Linked DNA regions of Homo sapiens: all the other regions are linked to region 1. The links are contacts of gene promoters, found by promoter capture Hi-C in blood cells and fetal thymus (Javierre and others, 2016). All regions are on one chromosome and are shown on one strand. Each heading gives the region's core, a stretch centred on a gene start or on the middle of the fragment in contact. The rest is flanking DNA. Distances are from core to core; before and after follow the strand shown.

What was found. Contacts are between HindIII fragments. The CHiCAGO score rates a contact against its expected background, and 5 or more counts as called.
Region 2: a contact is called between the fragment with the promoter of GPD1L here and the fragment with the promoter of SLC4A7 in region 1, in 1 of 17 cell types (non-activated CD4 T cells). The highest score is 6.0, in non-activated CD4 T cells.
Region 3: a contact is called between the fragment with the promoter of STT3B here and the fragment with the promoter of SLC4A7 in region 1, in 1 of 17 cell types (fetal thymus). The highest score is 9.1, in fetal thymus.

Annotation. Positions count from the first base shown.
Region 1 is chr3:27,481,150-27,486,047 of GRCh38, forward strand. SLC4A7 (solute carrier family 4 member 7) reads right to left here and starts at 3,235. Exons shown (of 26, transcript NM_001321103.2): 1 at 2,918-3,235. The coding sequence starts at 2,977. RefSeq lists enhancers at 1,974-2,033, 2,194-2,403, 2,434-2,493, 2,509-3,285, 3,764-3,893 and silencers at 2,664-2,733, 2,764-3,123, 3,154-3,633. The HindIII fragment of the contact is 9,889 bases long and covers 1-3,554 here.
Region 2 is chr3:32,104,160-32,109,057 of GRCh38, forward strand. It overlaps GPD1L (glycerol-3-phosphate dehydrogenase 1 like), which reads left to right and starts at 2,461. Exons shown (of 8, transcript NM_015141.4): 1 at 2,461-2,599. The coding sequence starts at 2,553. RefSeq lists silencers at 2,194-2,603, 2,724-2,863. The HindIII fragment of the contact is 2,757 bases long and covers 458-3,214 here.
Region 3 is chr3:31,530,700-31,535,597 of GRCh38, forward strand. STT3B (STT3 oligosaccharyltransferase complex catalytic subunit B) reads left to right here and starts at 2,226. Exons shown (of 16, transcript NM_178862.3): 1 at 2,226-2,613. The coding sequence starts at 2,300. RefSeq lists silencers at 1,549-1,808, 2,119-2,348, 2,379-2,508, 2,589-2,738 and enhancers at 1,909-2,048, 2,899-2,958, 4,398-4,898. The HindIII fragment of the contact is 5,534 bases long and covers 1-4,898 here.

The sequences.
Region 1 (4,898 bases), core at 1,985-4,484:
GGAAAATAAGACTGACAACAACAACAAAAAAAGACTCACAAATCAATTCCAAGTGAGGCTTACAATTATGAGGCTTTATAGCAAAAGCAAAAGACAAGTTACATTTTTTCAAGATTAATGACTTTCCTCTATCCCAACACCCTGATCAGTGAAAATTAGAGAATTTTAGGAGCAGAAGCAACCATAGAGGCTAAACTATGAAACAGATGGGCTCCAATTTCAGAGTAATATAAACTGCCACCAATCTATTCAACATTTTTTTGCATAATTACAAATCTAAGATGGGATTTTATGAATATTAATTTGTTCTACTTTTTTGGCTATGCTGAGCAGTCTGCTGCGAGTTAGAGTTATGACTGATGAATATCATGATCTCTCACTTTTACGACTTTTATTTACCAAAACTGGGTGAGCGAAGATTTAATTTTATCAACGCCAATAGTTCCTCTTTCCTGTTTTCAAATCAGTTCAACCTACAGCTTTACTATTCTCCCATTCTATTCGTAGACTATATGCTAGTTTACTGTATTTGATTTCTATTATTGATTTATATATGTTAACAGTAGCCAAGCCTTATCTTCTCAAAGACTTAGGAGGTTTACCCTTCTAAAGTGCTCCCCTACCACGTCATTAACAGCAGTGTTTAATAATTCCTTTGTCATCTGTCTCCCAACTCAAATATCACTTCTATTAGGATAGAGTTGGGTAGGGTGCCATGGCTTACACCTGTAATCCCAGCACTCTGTGAGGCCGAGGTGGGTGGATCACCTGAGGTCAGGAGTTCGAGACCAGCCTAACCAACAGTGAAATCCCATCTCTACTAAAAATACAAAATTAGCCGAGTATGGTGGCACATGCCTGTAATCCCAGCTACTCGGGAGGCTGAGGCCGAAGAATCACTTGAACCCAGGAGGCAGAGGTTGCAGTGAGGCGAGATCAGGCCATTGCGCTCCAGCCTGGGTGACAGAGCGAAACTCCGTCTCAAAAATAAATAAATAAATATTAGGATGGAGTTGGTTCTGCCTTGTTGGCCACTACAGTAAATAGTGTAAATAATAGTTTAAATAGCATAAACACTAGTCTAAATAAGTGTTATTACAATGAATGAATGAATAACTTGGAGGGCAATGGCCTTATCACATGCTTTCTCTACTAGCTAGGCAGGCAATATTTGAGAACACACCATAGTTTCTATCCAGCTCCGTGAAAACTCGAATGCACTTTACTGCTCAATTGAAAATTTGCAAATAAATTTAAGAACAGACAACATCATACTTGAAATACACAGAGAAAGTACTATAAAACAGTTTATTCAAAGGCTACACAAAGAATTACAGAAGGCCAGGCGCGGTGGCTCACGCCTGTAATCCTAGCACTTTGGGAGGCCGAGGCGGGTGGATTGCCTGAGGTCAGGAGTTCCAGACCAGCCTGGACAACATGGCAAAACCCCGTCTCTACTAAAAATACAAAAAATTAGCTGGGCATAGTGGTGCGTGCCTGTAATTCCTGCTACTCCGGAGGCTGAGGCGGGAGAATCGGTTGAACCTGGGAGGAGGAGGTTGCAGTGAGCCGAGATCGCACCACTGCATTCCAGCCTGGGCGACAGAGCGAGACTCTGTCTCAAAATAATAATAATAATAATTACAGATTATTTAGGATGAGTTTCCAGTATTCCATTACCATCACTGTGAATTATCTTCCAATAACCACTGCTAAATGACTTCACTGTCTGGTGACTGAGTTTTCTTCTATGTTAGAGAACTTATATGAACGTACTGAACTAATGAATGACTACTTTCCATAACCTTAACTATAATCCTAAAAGTTAAAAGGGAAAGCCGGCAGGCAGTTTTAAAGACAACTCTTGAATAAAAACATAGGAGAAGTAATTTTCCTCTTAGTTGTGAAAGACCGGACAATTTTCCCTGCAACCTTCCCGCCTTTGCTGGTTGCATAGTAAAAATTAGAAGTAGGAAAATTTAGAATACTTCCATCTCCTTTGAGTCACGAACTTGGAAAGGAGAAAGAGACAACTGCGGGGACGCATGTGCTCTAAAGAAAGCAGGAAGTCCGCTTCTTGAGCATGGGCCGTTCACCCATCATCACAAATGGGAACACCGGCCTTAAGTCCATCCCCATTCTCTTCTAACCCTGAAATCAAAGCCAGTCTCAGTAGGAAACGCGATCTTGCTAGCTGAGTTAGAGAAGGAGCACCAGACAGCTCAGGACACCCTCCTCCTTCTACTTGGCCTGCGGCAGGAGGATACTCCCCGGGTCCCAGCCAGTGGAGAAGGCGGACCCGGCAGGCAACAGCGAAAGAGCCTTGGCCGGGAAGGAGCGCGGCCAGTCCACGCGGCCGGAGAACTCACCGAACAAAGCGCACCGCGGAGCGGGAGGGGACACTCGGAAAGAGGGGGAAAGATTCAACCAGCTCTTCACCACTGCCTGGGGCTAGAGACAGGTGGAGCCGCCGTCCTCCTTAGAAGGAGAAGAAAGATAGGTTTTCGAGGGCTAATCTGAAACTCCTGCGCCAAGGCAACCGGAACCGGGACCCCGCCTGGGGAGCGCGCTAAGAAACAGGGGAGGCGAGCGCTGAGGGAAGGGATGGATGGTCGGGGTCACAGGCGGCCTCTGCGGGGATGTCGGGGTCCCGCCTGAGCCGCGCAGAGGATGCCCGCGGCGCGCCGCCGGCCGCCCCGACTCGGGCCTCCCGAGCGCAGCCGCTGGCCCCCTCCCACCCGCGCCCCAGGCCGCCACACAAAGGGGATGGCGAGGCGCGCCGGCCGCCGGGAGGTGGAGGGGCGACGGGCCTGGGACGAGGTGGCCGAGCCGCGACGCCCGCCGCGCCCCCCGCCTTTGTCTGCCTCGCCCCGCGCCCTCCCCCTGCGGAGGAGCCCCACCGCCGCGGCGCCCTCACCCTGCTCGTTACCCGGGTGAGTAGCGGTCTCATCTGCTCGCCGGCCCCATCAGCCTCCATGGCCGGCCGGCCAGCCCGTGACGGCCGCTACGGTACTGCCCCGCGCGGTCTGCCTGCTTCTGCCGCTGCCCCTGCCGCCGCCGCCGAGCCCCCGGCGCGCGAGGACAAACGTGGGTGCGTCCGTGCGCGAGGTGTGCGCGCGTGGGGAGAGCCGGGCGCCGGGCGCGGGAGACGCGGGGCGTGCGTGTGCGCGCTGCGACTGCTGGGCTGGCTTTAGTAGGAGAGCGAGGCCGCGGCGTGGAACCTGAAGCTAGAACTGAGCGAACCGGCGGACCGAGCGGGAAGGAGGAGAGCCGCGTAGGAGGAGGGGTTCGGGGGCGGAGCCGCAAACCGTGACGAGCCCGGCGCCGGGGCCAGGCAAGACACGCCCCCCCGCCCCGCCTCCTCGGGTCACGCCCCCTGCCAGTCTGGCACCGCCAGCCTCCTCAGCGCGCCCGCGGGCCGCGCCGCTAGGCCACCGGGAGATGGGGCGGGAGGGAGGCGGGACGGACATTTGTCCCAGCCAATCGGCGGCTGGCGGACTTCCGCTCGCCTCCCCCGTGCCACCTCCTCAGGACGCACCGCCCCTCTTTGTATAAGCTTAATTGACCGAAGCTGAGCGTCTAACTAGTTTTTCAAGTCGGAAGCTCCCCTGACGTTCTCAATGGGGTGGGGGGTCACCACCTCCCTTGGCTCCTAACTACATTCTTTAGAGGCTGCAGGGAAGGAGGACGCCACCTCTGTCAAGGACGCCCAGGATAACCCTCCGAAGCAACTAACGAGTCTTCACGACTCCTGGAAGTTTCTTTTCTGTCAATCCAGTAGGCACGAACCCCAACTCAGGGACCGTGAAAGATGGGGTACACTTGACCAGGTGTCCTCCTGTGCTTGCTCGCCCACTGAGCACCACGACAGCTGCCACTTTTTTTTTTTTTTTTTTTTTTTTTGAGACAGAGTCTTGCACCAGCCCAGGTTGGAGTGCAATGGCATGATCTCGGCTCACTGCAACCTCCGCTGCCTGGGTTCAAGCTATTCTCCTGCCTCAGCCTCCTGAGTAGCTGGGACTACAGACGCGCGCCACCACGCCCGGCAACTTTTTGTATTTTTAGTAGAGACGGGGTTTCACCATGTTGGTTAGGCTGGTCTCGAACTCCTGAGCTAAGGTGATCCACCAGCCTCAGCCTCCCAAAGTGCTGGGATTACAGGCATGAGCCACCACACCCGGCCAGCTGCCACATTATTGAGTCCACCCTGTAGGCCGTCTCTCAAATATCCCTTCTGTAACGGGATGATTGTAATACCTGCCATGCAGGCTCATTGAAGGATTAAGGGGATTTATATTCATAAAAGTGCCTGGCACATAGCATGCTGATAATTTTCATTATTGTTAACAGGTTTCTCTTGAGTGTTTCATAAAGATGAGAAATTTGGCCGGGCGCGGTGGCTTACGCCTGTAATTACAGCAGTTTGGGAGGCCGAGGCGGGCGGATCACCTGAGATCAGGAGTTCGAGACCAGCCTGACCAACATGACGAAACCCCGTGTCTACTAAAAATACAAAAATTAGCCAGGCATGGTGGCAGGCACCTGTAATCCCAGCTACTCAGGAGGCTGAGGCAGGAGAATCGCTTGAACCCAGGAGGCAGAGGTTGCAGTGAGCTGAGATCACGCCACTGCACTCCAGCCTGGGTGACAGAGCTAGACCCTGTCTCAAAAAAATAAAAAATAAAATAAAAAAAGATAAGGAGAGGTTTAGTTGGGAAGAACTGAAGCCATGCAATGGAAGGATATATAAATACATCAGCGGATCCAGAGCTCACATCCTATTCATCTCCAACTGGGTATTAGTAAAGCTTTTTGTCAGCAATAGGTAGCTAGGTATGCTGGATGACTCATTCCTTCTTTGGGCCCTAGTCCCCTTTTGTCCTAAATTTCCCAGAGAG
Region 2 (4,898 bases), core at 1,211-3,710, 4.6 Mb after region 1:
CCTCCTAGGCTCAAGTAATCCCCTCATCTCAGCCTATTCCGACTAGCTGGGACACCCAGCTAATTTTAATTTTTTGTAGAGACACGGTATGTGTTATCCAGCCTGGTCTTGAACTCCTGAGCTCAAGCAATCTTCCCACCCCGGCCTCCCAAAGTGTTGAGATTACAGGTGTGAGCCACCGCGCCTGGCCCCCAGCTGCCTTTAAAAACCCTTACTTGCCAGCCATCAAGGAGGAGCTACCTGATTCTCCTTGCTTGGTACCCTACAGATAAACACCCTTCTTTCTCCCTCTGCAAACCTTGGTGTGGGTATTTGGCCTTACTGTGTCAGGTGAAGGGACCCTAGTTCAGTTAGATAACATAAATATTTGCAGTGTATGTGTACTACCCAAGGACATGACTTCATTATTCAATTTGACAAATGCGTTCTGTTACACAAATACAGAAAGGATTAATAAAGCTTTACTAGTCCATCTTTCCCATTATCCCTGCATGTATCCTTGCATTAGTGCAAATAATTGAGAACAAACCATTGGTGAGGGGATGGAAAGACTGCTCTGACTCACCAGCTCCCTTTAAGTATTTCCTTAAGTAAATATCATAAGTAACACAAATAAATATTTCATACAATGTAGAGAAAAAAGCAAAAATAACAGTTCTCTGAGCATCAAACTAATAGGCTTAGTATTACTATCATTTTTTTGAAACGGAGTGTCGCTCTTGTCGCCCAGGCAAGATCTCGGCTCACTGCAACCTCCGCCTCCCAGGTTCAAGAGATTCTCCTGTCTCAGCCTCCTGAGTAGCTGGGATTACAGGCATCTGCCACCATGCCTGGCTAATTTTTTGTATTTTCAGTAGAGACGGGGTTTTGCCAAGTTGGGCAGACTAGTCTCCATCTCCTGACCTCAGGTGAACTGCCTGCCTCGACCTCCTGAAGTGCTGGGGTTATAGGCGTGAGCCACGGCACCCGGCCTAGGCTTAGTTTTTTGTAGGTACTAGAGTATTTGTTTCTTTAGCCAGAATCCACTGATATTTTAGTCTTCTGGTTCTCAATCTTGGCTTGCTTTTGCAACTACCTCTTGAACTTTAAAAAATTCTGCTCCAGCCTGGGCAACAGAAGGAGACTGTCTCAAAAAATATATGTCAATAAGTAAATATCCTGATGCCTGGATCCCACCATGGGACATTCTGATGTAACTGGCCTGCAATGGTGTCTGGGCATGGGGATTTTTAAAAGCCCCAGTGACTAATATGCAGCAGAGTTTGAGAACCACTGGTTTAAAGGACTTTGTCCTACTCTGACAGCGTCTAGCACAGTGCCTGGCAGAGACTGATGCTCAGAATGAACAAACTAAGATTCTATTTGTCAAGGAGGAGAGCATTGTGTTACTCACAAATGCAAACAAACCACAAGCAAGGGATAAGTCAGGCCCTGGGCAAAGACAATGGTAAAGCAATTCCTGCCAAGTAAGCGTGTGAGGGTGACACCCACTGAATGCAAGCTGTTGTTACCTTTTTCCCTTTATTTTTATGTATTTATTTTTTGTTGAGACAGGGTCTCACTGTCCTTCAGTCTGGAGTGCAGTGGCCCTATCCTGGCTCACTGAAGCCTCGACCTCCTGGGCACATGCAATTCTCCCGCCTCAGCCTCCTGAGTAGCTAGGACTATAGGTGCGTGCCACCATGCTTGGCTAATTTTTTAAATTTTTGTACAGAGGGGTGGGGGGTCCTAATTATGTTGCTCAGGCTGGTCTCGAACTCCTGGGCTCAAGTGATCTTCCTGACTCGGCCTCCAAAAGTGCTGGGATTACAGGTGTGAGCCACTGCACCAGGTCAAGTTTCTATCTTGACTCTAACTAGAAAAGGTGTCATCCTTGAAATGCAGGTACTGTTCAGCCAAATTCCAAAGTCCTCTGAAGATCCAAGTTCTCTAAGAAGTTCAGAGGTGCCAGGCTGTGTCTTGTTTGTGCAAATGAAACAGAGGATGACAAGGTCGGGTGGGCATTTCGAGCTCTGCCCCAAGTCTGGTCGGCTTGAGAGTCAACCTAGGAGCCTCTCTCGGCTCCAAATGGCAATGTGGCAGCCCTTCCCGAGTAGGGAAAAAGGAGCGTGTAGGGGGCACCACGGCAAGCTGGTTGGGTCTGCTCCACCCATGAGGATGGAGTGCAGCCTCCACCGGGAACCAGGGGCGCGAGTCGCTGCTCAGTGGCCTGGGCCTGCATGTGGCGCGGCGGGAGCTGCTGCCTAGGGCCGCGCAGCGACGGGGGGTGAGGACTACATGTCCCGACGTGCCTCGGGCAGGGCGGGGCGGTGCCGGAGCCGGGCCTGGAGGCCGGCCGGGGCCAGGCGTGCGCAGTGGTTCTTGGGAGTGGCGAAGCGGGTCCTGCCCCGCTGTCAGCTGCGGCCCCCGGCGCCGGGCGGGGGTGGCCGCGACCATTGGCGGAGAGGCGAAAGGGGCGGGGCCGCCGCCAGCCGCTGCGGGCAAGGCTGAACAGGCGGAGGTGGGCAGCCGGCCAGGGAAGCACGGTCCAGGCGGCTACATTCGGCCCGGCCATGGCAGCGGCGCCCCTGAAAGTGTGCATCGTGGGCTCGGGGAACTGGTGAGCGGCGGCGGGCTGGAGGCCGGGGCTCCGCTTCCAGGAAGCGCCTCTCCCGGGCGGTGAGGGCTGCGCGCCCCATGCTGCGGCGTGGGCACCGGGCACTGCGCGCAGGGAGGCGGGGTGGGCGACCTCGTTGCTGGGCTGGGCACCGTGCGCCCGAGGAGGCCGCACCGGGGCACTCGCTCGGGAGGCGCTGGGCTCGCGTGCGTGCGGGGGACAGCGCGGAGAGAGGGCACCCCGAGCACGCGGGCACCTGTCTGCGCCCCCGTTACTGAGCGCACAGAAGCCACCTGCTTGCCACGCCTGGGTGTTTTGCACAATATCCTAAGGGCGTATTCCGTTCTCCACGGCGGATCTCCTGGGTCAAGGACTTGGTGGAGGCTCGAGCATTCTTACTGCAGTTTCGGTGTTGAGGAAACCGAGGCGGAGAGGGCTAAAGGGCTCTTGCTGCCCAGGTCACGGGCGGGGCATGCTCTGCCCTTCAAGGTGCCCGTCTCGCCCCCGCTTCTGATAGGTCCACTATCTTAGGCGCGTCGTATCAGGAAGAAAATCCAAGTTTCAACAGGCCGCTCTCCCTGAGGCGTTGAGAATTCTCCCTTGCCGAGATGTTTGCGAAGCTTTGCGTCTCTTTGGGGCCTTATTTGACTTTAACATTTTATAGAGCACATTAGAAATGTCAGTTCTTCTAGTACCCTTAATCAAACGTACACTGTGGGATTCTCTGGTGTGTTTGGGTGAATGTAGAGGTGGGGGTGTGAAGGGGGAAGGAAGCAAAGTGTAGCATCTGGTGTTTCCAAGCCTTTTTTCATTGCTGTACACTCTGCCACATTGGAGGGACTGGTGTACAATAGTTAAGAGTGATGATGTCCTTTCAGTGCTTCTGTTTACCGGTTTTTCTGTGGCGTGACAGGCATCAGAAGTGCTGCAGCAGCTGGTCCTAGGTAGTTGGTCTTAGTTTTACTCTTTCAAGACTTGGCCCAGAAAGTACTTATTGAAGGAAACCTTACCTGGTTCTTCACTTTTCCATCCCAGCAAGGCCAGTGGCCTCTCTCTGTGTCCCTATTGCTGGCCTGCATCACTGCATTATAAGGAGTTATTTGATTATCTGTCTCCCAACTTTTGAGAATGGCATCTACCCTAGTGCCTGGCATATGCTAAGTCAATACTAAGACTCTGTTGCAGTGGTGCGATCTTGGCTCACTGCAACCTCCACCTCCTGGATTCAAGCGATTCTTGTGCCTCATCCACTTGAGTAGCTGGGATTACAGGTGTGAGCCACCGCTCCCTGCCTAAAAACTAATTTTTAAAACCATAATGATATTTGATTGAATAATACATTCACATTGTTTAACAACCAGGGCTGGGCGCAGTAGCTTATGCCTGTAATCCCAGCACTTTGGGAGGCTGAGGTGGGCCCAGGAGTTTGAGACTAGCCTGGGCAACACGGCAAAACCCCGCCTCTACAAAAAATAAAATATTAGTCGGGCATGGTGGCTCACGCTTGTAATCCCAGCACTTTGGGAGGCTGAGGCAGGGGGATCACGAGGTCAGGAGATTGAGACCACGGTGAAACCCCGTCTCTACTGAAAATACAAAAAATTAGCCAGGTGTGGTGGCAGGCGCCTGTAGTCCCGGCTACTTGGGATGCTAAGGCAGCAGAATCGCCTGAGCCTGGGAGGCAGAGGTTGCAGTGAGCCAAAATCAGATTGCACCATCGTACTCTAGTCTGTGTGAAGGGAGTGAAACCCTGTCTCAAAAGAACAAAACAAAACAAAAAATAAAAAACAAAAACCAAAGAGTACCAAAAACAGTGAAACATCACCCATCCACATTTATCCCCCCTGAGTACCTCCTGGAGGAAAACCAGTGTTATGAATTACTTCTGTCCTTTCTGGAGGAATTCCATGCAAGTGAATGCTTACATATAGTCCTTTCGCCCTCCACGCTGCAAATACTAGGGTATTGCATACTTTTCTGTGAGCTGCATTTTTCAACCAACAACAGAATGTTCTACACAATATTTAATAGAGTTGGTAGCTTGCTGCTGCAAAGCTTAATTTGGACTTTCAGCTTGGCTTTGCCAGTTGTTTTTTTTTATTACTATTTTTTTAGACGGAGTCTCCCTCTGTCGCCCAGGCTGGAGTGCAGTGGCGCGATCTCTGCTCACTGCAAGCTCCGCTTCCTGGGTTCATGCCATTCTCCTGCCTCAGCCTCCTGAGTAGCTGGGACTACAGGCATCCGCCACCATGCCTGGCTAATTTTTTGTATTCTTAGTAGAGACGGGGTTTCACCATGTTAG
Region 3 (4,898 bases), core at 976-3,475, 4.0 Mb after region 1:
CTGACTTTAAGAGCAGAAAGGGCAACCCATGCAGGTGACTTGTCCAATGCTACATGACTAGTAAGCAACAATTTGGGACTATTTCACTTTGTCACTTTTCAGATCAGGCCTATGGCCATTAAACAGCCAAAACAGGAAGCAAAAGAAGATAACGTAGAACTTACTAGGGAATAGATACACAAAGACAATAAAATAGAAATATCCAAACAAATTAAAATAAAAACACAAATTTTATTTTAGACTGATAAAACTTTGGTTCAGGGAACACAGACAAAAATCCTCTGCTGTCATTTCAGCATGTACCGTTTGGGCTATGAGGAAAAGCATGTCATCTTTCTCTGTATAACAGAGGCAGTTAATATTTTATCCTAATTCTCATTAAAATGTGTACGTTCAATAAATGTCGGCTATTAAACTGTTGGTGAGAAAGTCTATTTCTGGAAACCTTTTCATTATTTCCTTAATAAGACTATTTATGGTTTTTTTAAGGAAACAAGACAAAACGTAACCACTTAGCAGGTTAAAAGGGTAGCTGGAGTTGCCTTACTTTCAAGGAGCTACCTCAAAATAACTAGGGTTCATTTATCTAATATTTTAAGACTTCTATTAATATTGAAACACAATTTGTAGTTAAAGAGAAAAATTTAAATCACCTAAGAAAATAATTCAGGGCCTTTATAGTTTTACATTAATATGCCCTTTAATATCCAGATGTTACTTACCTAATAAAATGTACAATTAGCTGTGAATTGACATGAACAAGTATTTACTGAGCACCGATTACGCCGAAAGCTCCGTACTTTCTATGGGGTTTATATAAGAGCAATTCGAGTCTCCCCACTACCTCACTTAGTTTAAGCTCATTTTGCCCTGAGTTTATCTGGTAGCACTTTATTTTAGCGGACAAGGAGGGAAGTGGGGAAAGGAAAGGAATTATAAAAATACAAGGTAGACGTGCACAAGAACCTTCGTTCTATTATTATTTAGTAAAGTGAGAACTGGAAACAGCTTAACGTCCAGGGTAAGTTAGTTTCACTCACTCGACGGAATGTATGCAGCCGTTAATGTATTTCTGCATTTTCCCATATTTCCAGTGAACATACAGTACTTTCGCAATTCGGAGTACAAACGAAAAAGGGCGAGAGAAGGTCGCATTTTGCCTGCCGGAGCTAGGGGCGCGCTTGCCGGTTCCAACGAGTTTTCGGTGTCGGAAAACTTGTCTTTGCTCACATTCTCGGATTCCCGCGGCCGCAGAAGCCGGAGGCGGGACGTGAAGGGCAATGAGCAAGGTAGGCTGTGTCACTGCCGCCGCGGGCTCACTCGCAGCGCCAGCCGAGGAGCGCCACGGGCTGCTGAACCCCTCGGCCCGACCCACGCGCCGAGGGCTAGGATAATGCGCCTGCGCGGCCGTCACGTGGTGAGGGCTCCGCGCAAAGCGGGTTAAAAGTCACGACCGCGGAGAGCCCGCGAGCGTCCTGCTGGTCGGTGCGGCGCTTTCCGCGTCCTTTAAGACGAGTTTGACCGAGGCCGCTCCGCAGTTCCCGCCCCTCGGCCCAGCTCAGCTCCATGAACCTAGCGGAGCCGCCTAGTACCCTTTCTCGCCGACCGCACAGGCGCGCGAAACCGCGTCTTTCAACTGACAATGAAGCCGTAGCCGCGCAGCTCGGCCACTCCGGGCGAATCGGCGCGAGGCCGGGATGGTGGGGGGGAGGGGGAGACGGTTGGGTCAAGCTCCGCCCCAGCTCGCGCCCCTATTGGTGGGCGCAGCGGTTCTGGGCCCGCCCCCTAACGGACCTGTCGCTTTGTGACAGGCGGAGGGGCCAGTTCCTGTCGGGCCGGAGGCGGAGTCAGAGGTTGCTTGAGCTCCGCCCGGACTCCAGGGGGCTCCTCCCCCTGCTCCTTTCGGCTGGGCGGGCGGCGGGCTAGAGAGGGAATGTCATTGCTTCTCAGAGCCGTGGTGCCGCCTCCGTCTGCTGCTTCTTTCCTGGCGCCCTCGTCCCGTCGGCTTTCGCCGCCGCCGCCGCAGCTGCACTGGGGATACGGATGGCTAGTGGGGCGCCGGGGCCATCTGGGTTGAGAGAGCGGCGATTGCGGCCGCTGCTGAGGCGGAGACTCCCCGCCGCCGCTTCCTCCACCCCCAGTCCGCCGGCCTCGCGGCGCTGAGGGCGGGAGCGCGCAGAGCTCTTCCCTCCTCCTTTTTCTTCCTCCTCCTCCTCCTCCTCCGGGTCCCCGCCCAGCACCCCTCGCACCAGGCGGCGGCGGCGGAGGAGGAGAGCTAGACCCGCCGCCGGGGCACAACATGGCGGAGCCCTCGGCCCCGGAGAGCAAGCACAAGTCGTCCCTCAACTCGTCCCCGTGGAGTGGCCTCATGGCCCTGGGAAACAGCCGGCACGGCCACCACGGGCCCGGGGCCCAGTGCGCGCACAAGGCGGCGGGCGGCGCGGCGCCGCCGAAGCCGGCCCCGGCGGGGCTGTCCGGGGGGCTGTCGCAGCCGGCTGGGTGGCAGTCGCTTCTCTCCTTCACCATCCTCTTCCTGGCCTGGCTTGCCGGCTTCAGCTCGCGCCTCTTCGCCGTCATCCGCTTCGAAAGCATCATCCACGAGTTCGACCCGTGGTAAGTGCCTCGCCGCCCCTCCCCCGCCCGTGGCCCGCGGGGAACCGGGACCCGCTCCTCCGCCCGCCGCAGCTCTCCTCGACTTGGCCCCGCGCCGCCGCGGAGCCCCGCTCGCGTCCTGGCTGAGGCCGGCGCGGATCCCGGAGCTCCGGGCGCGCCCCCTGCCCGTGGGCGAAGTTTGCCCCGTGCAGCCTGAGGCGGGGCGTCGGGGTCCAGGAGCGAAACCTTGATTCTCGGCCGGGCTAGTGTGAAGACTGCCAGGAGTGTGGATGCAGCCGCCGGGAGTGTGGGTGCAGCCGCCGGGAGTGTGGGTGCAGTCCCTCGCAGCCCGCTTTGGTCGCTGAGTCCGGACCCGCCACGCCAGGAGGCGGCAGGTAGCTCCTCCGCGGACTGTCGGTCGATTCCCCGCCCTCCTCGCCCGCTGCTTTCGCGTTCTTTCATATTTGCGGGCGCGTTTTTGCTAGTTCAGACGGAATCGGCCAGGGGGGCTGCCCTGTTGCCGCTGGAGGTGGGTCCAGATGTGCCGGAACCCCGGCTGCTCACCCTTGCAGTTTTACGCTTTTACTGTTTCTTTTTATGCTCTCATGATACGAGAAGGGAAAAGGAGAGTGAATGGCGTGTTGGAGGGAAGGAAATAATACCCCTGAAAGTGATCTGAAAGCTAGCTACTCTTATTTATTTATCATTAGGTATTTTAAAGAGTGGCTTTTTTTCAGAGCTCTTAAGTGCACTCAGCACCTTACTGTTTCACTATCGTCTTGGGTTGCTTTTTAGAACAAGATCCTTACCCTGTTAGCCACTGTCACCCTTAGTGTGTTATGCACAGTATCTGAAAGCATTGCATTAGTTCCTTTATTGGTCTGCAGGAAGGTTTGTGGATAAGAGCAAACAGTACCACGGTGATGGGAGTCCTAGATTGTAATACCGAAGTTGCACATGGTGTAAGGGACTGACCTGAATGTTTTAGGAAATTACCCCACTCTTAACAACACTAGCTAACTTAGACACTACATTGGTCTGTGAATTATCTAGATGGAAAGATTGCTTTAACTTTTTTTTCGCAACTTGCCCAACCCGAGTTAGGATTTTTCCCCCTGAGTTAGGATTTTCCCCTCTGAGAGTATGCCTTTTAAACTAGTGTTATCTTATTGACCTGTCAACCTTGAGTTAATCTTACTTCCTCACAGTTAGACCTAATTAAATTTCAGGATATTTGTTTCATCATTTGAGATTCAAAGAGAGAGAGTCTTTTTTGAGAGTTACTAACTATATAGATAATAAGTGTTCGGGTGGAGGGGGGCAGTAACTTACCTGTATAGTAATATACCAGATTTAAGTTCTGCATTATGGAGAGAAAAATTGGTACTGCAACATCTATTGAACACCAGAGGGGCCCACTCATGGACAATTCAATTTAGATCAGTTAATTACTGTGACAGTCTTCCATGAAATGTTTTCATTCCATTTTAGAAGTTTTGATTTTGTTTTCTAACACTAGTTTTTTTAAAAAATAACCTTTTTGTTAACGTGCAATCACAGAAGAAAATATGTTAGTGTAGACTATTTATGAGCCTAAGAATACCTGTGAAGGCTTATTGACACAATATTATTAGGTGGTCTTGTTTTGAAATACTTAAGCAAGTTAGATAAAAATGAAATTGGAACCAGAAAATGAAAACTAGTATTTACTGGACAATATGAAAAGAGAAAGTTCTCTTTTCAGATTAAAATAGCAGAAATGCATGGTTGACCAAACATTTCAGGTAACAAAATTGTGAATATTTCCATAGTAACATTTTTACAAATGGAAGGCTAACGACTGTTTAATAGTAACTCTGGGGCTGAAATTAAAGATTGCAGAAAAATTCACTACTGAATGATGAGATTTTGGTCATTTTTCCTTAAGATTAGAAATCTGCATCAAGTCAGCCAAAGATCCCCACTAAAATTGAGTAATGCAATAATGAAAAGGCTCAACAAGTAAAGTGGCTAATATTTTTATTTTTTATTTTTTATTTTTATTATTTTTTTTTTTTTAGTGTAGCTAAGTATTAAAAGTTTTCTTTTTCCAGCTTCAGTAGTGTGGTTGGAGGGCATAATTCTTTTTCATGCACATGAAAATATGTTTTGGTCGGGCGCGGTGGCTCACGCCTGTAATCCCAGCACTTCGGAAAGCCGAGGCAGGTGGATCACCTGAGGTCAGGAGTTCGAGACCAGCCTGGCCAACATGGTGAAACCCCCTCTCTACTAAAAATACAAAAATTAGCCGGGAGTGGTGTCGGGCG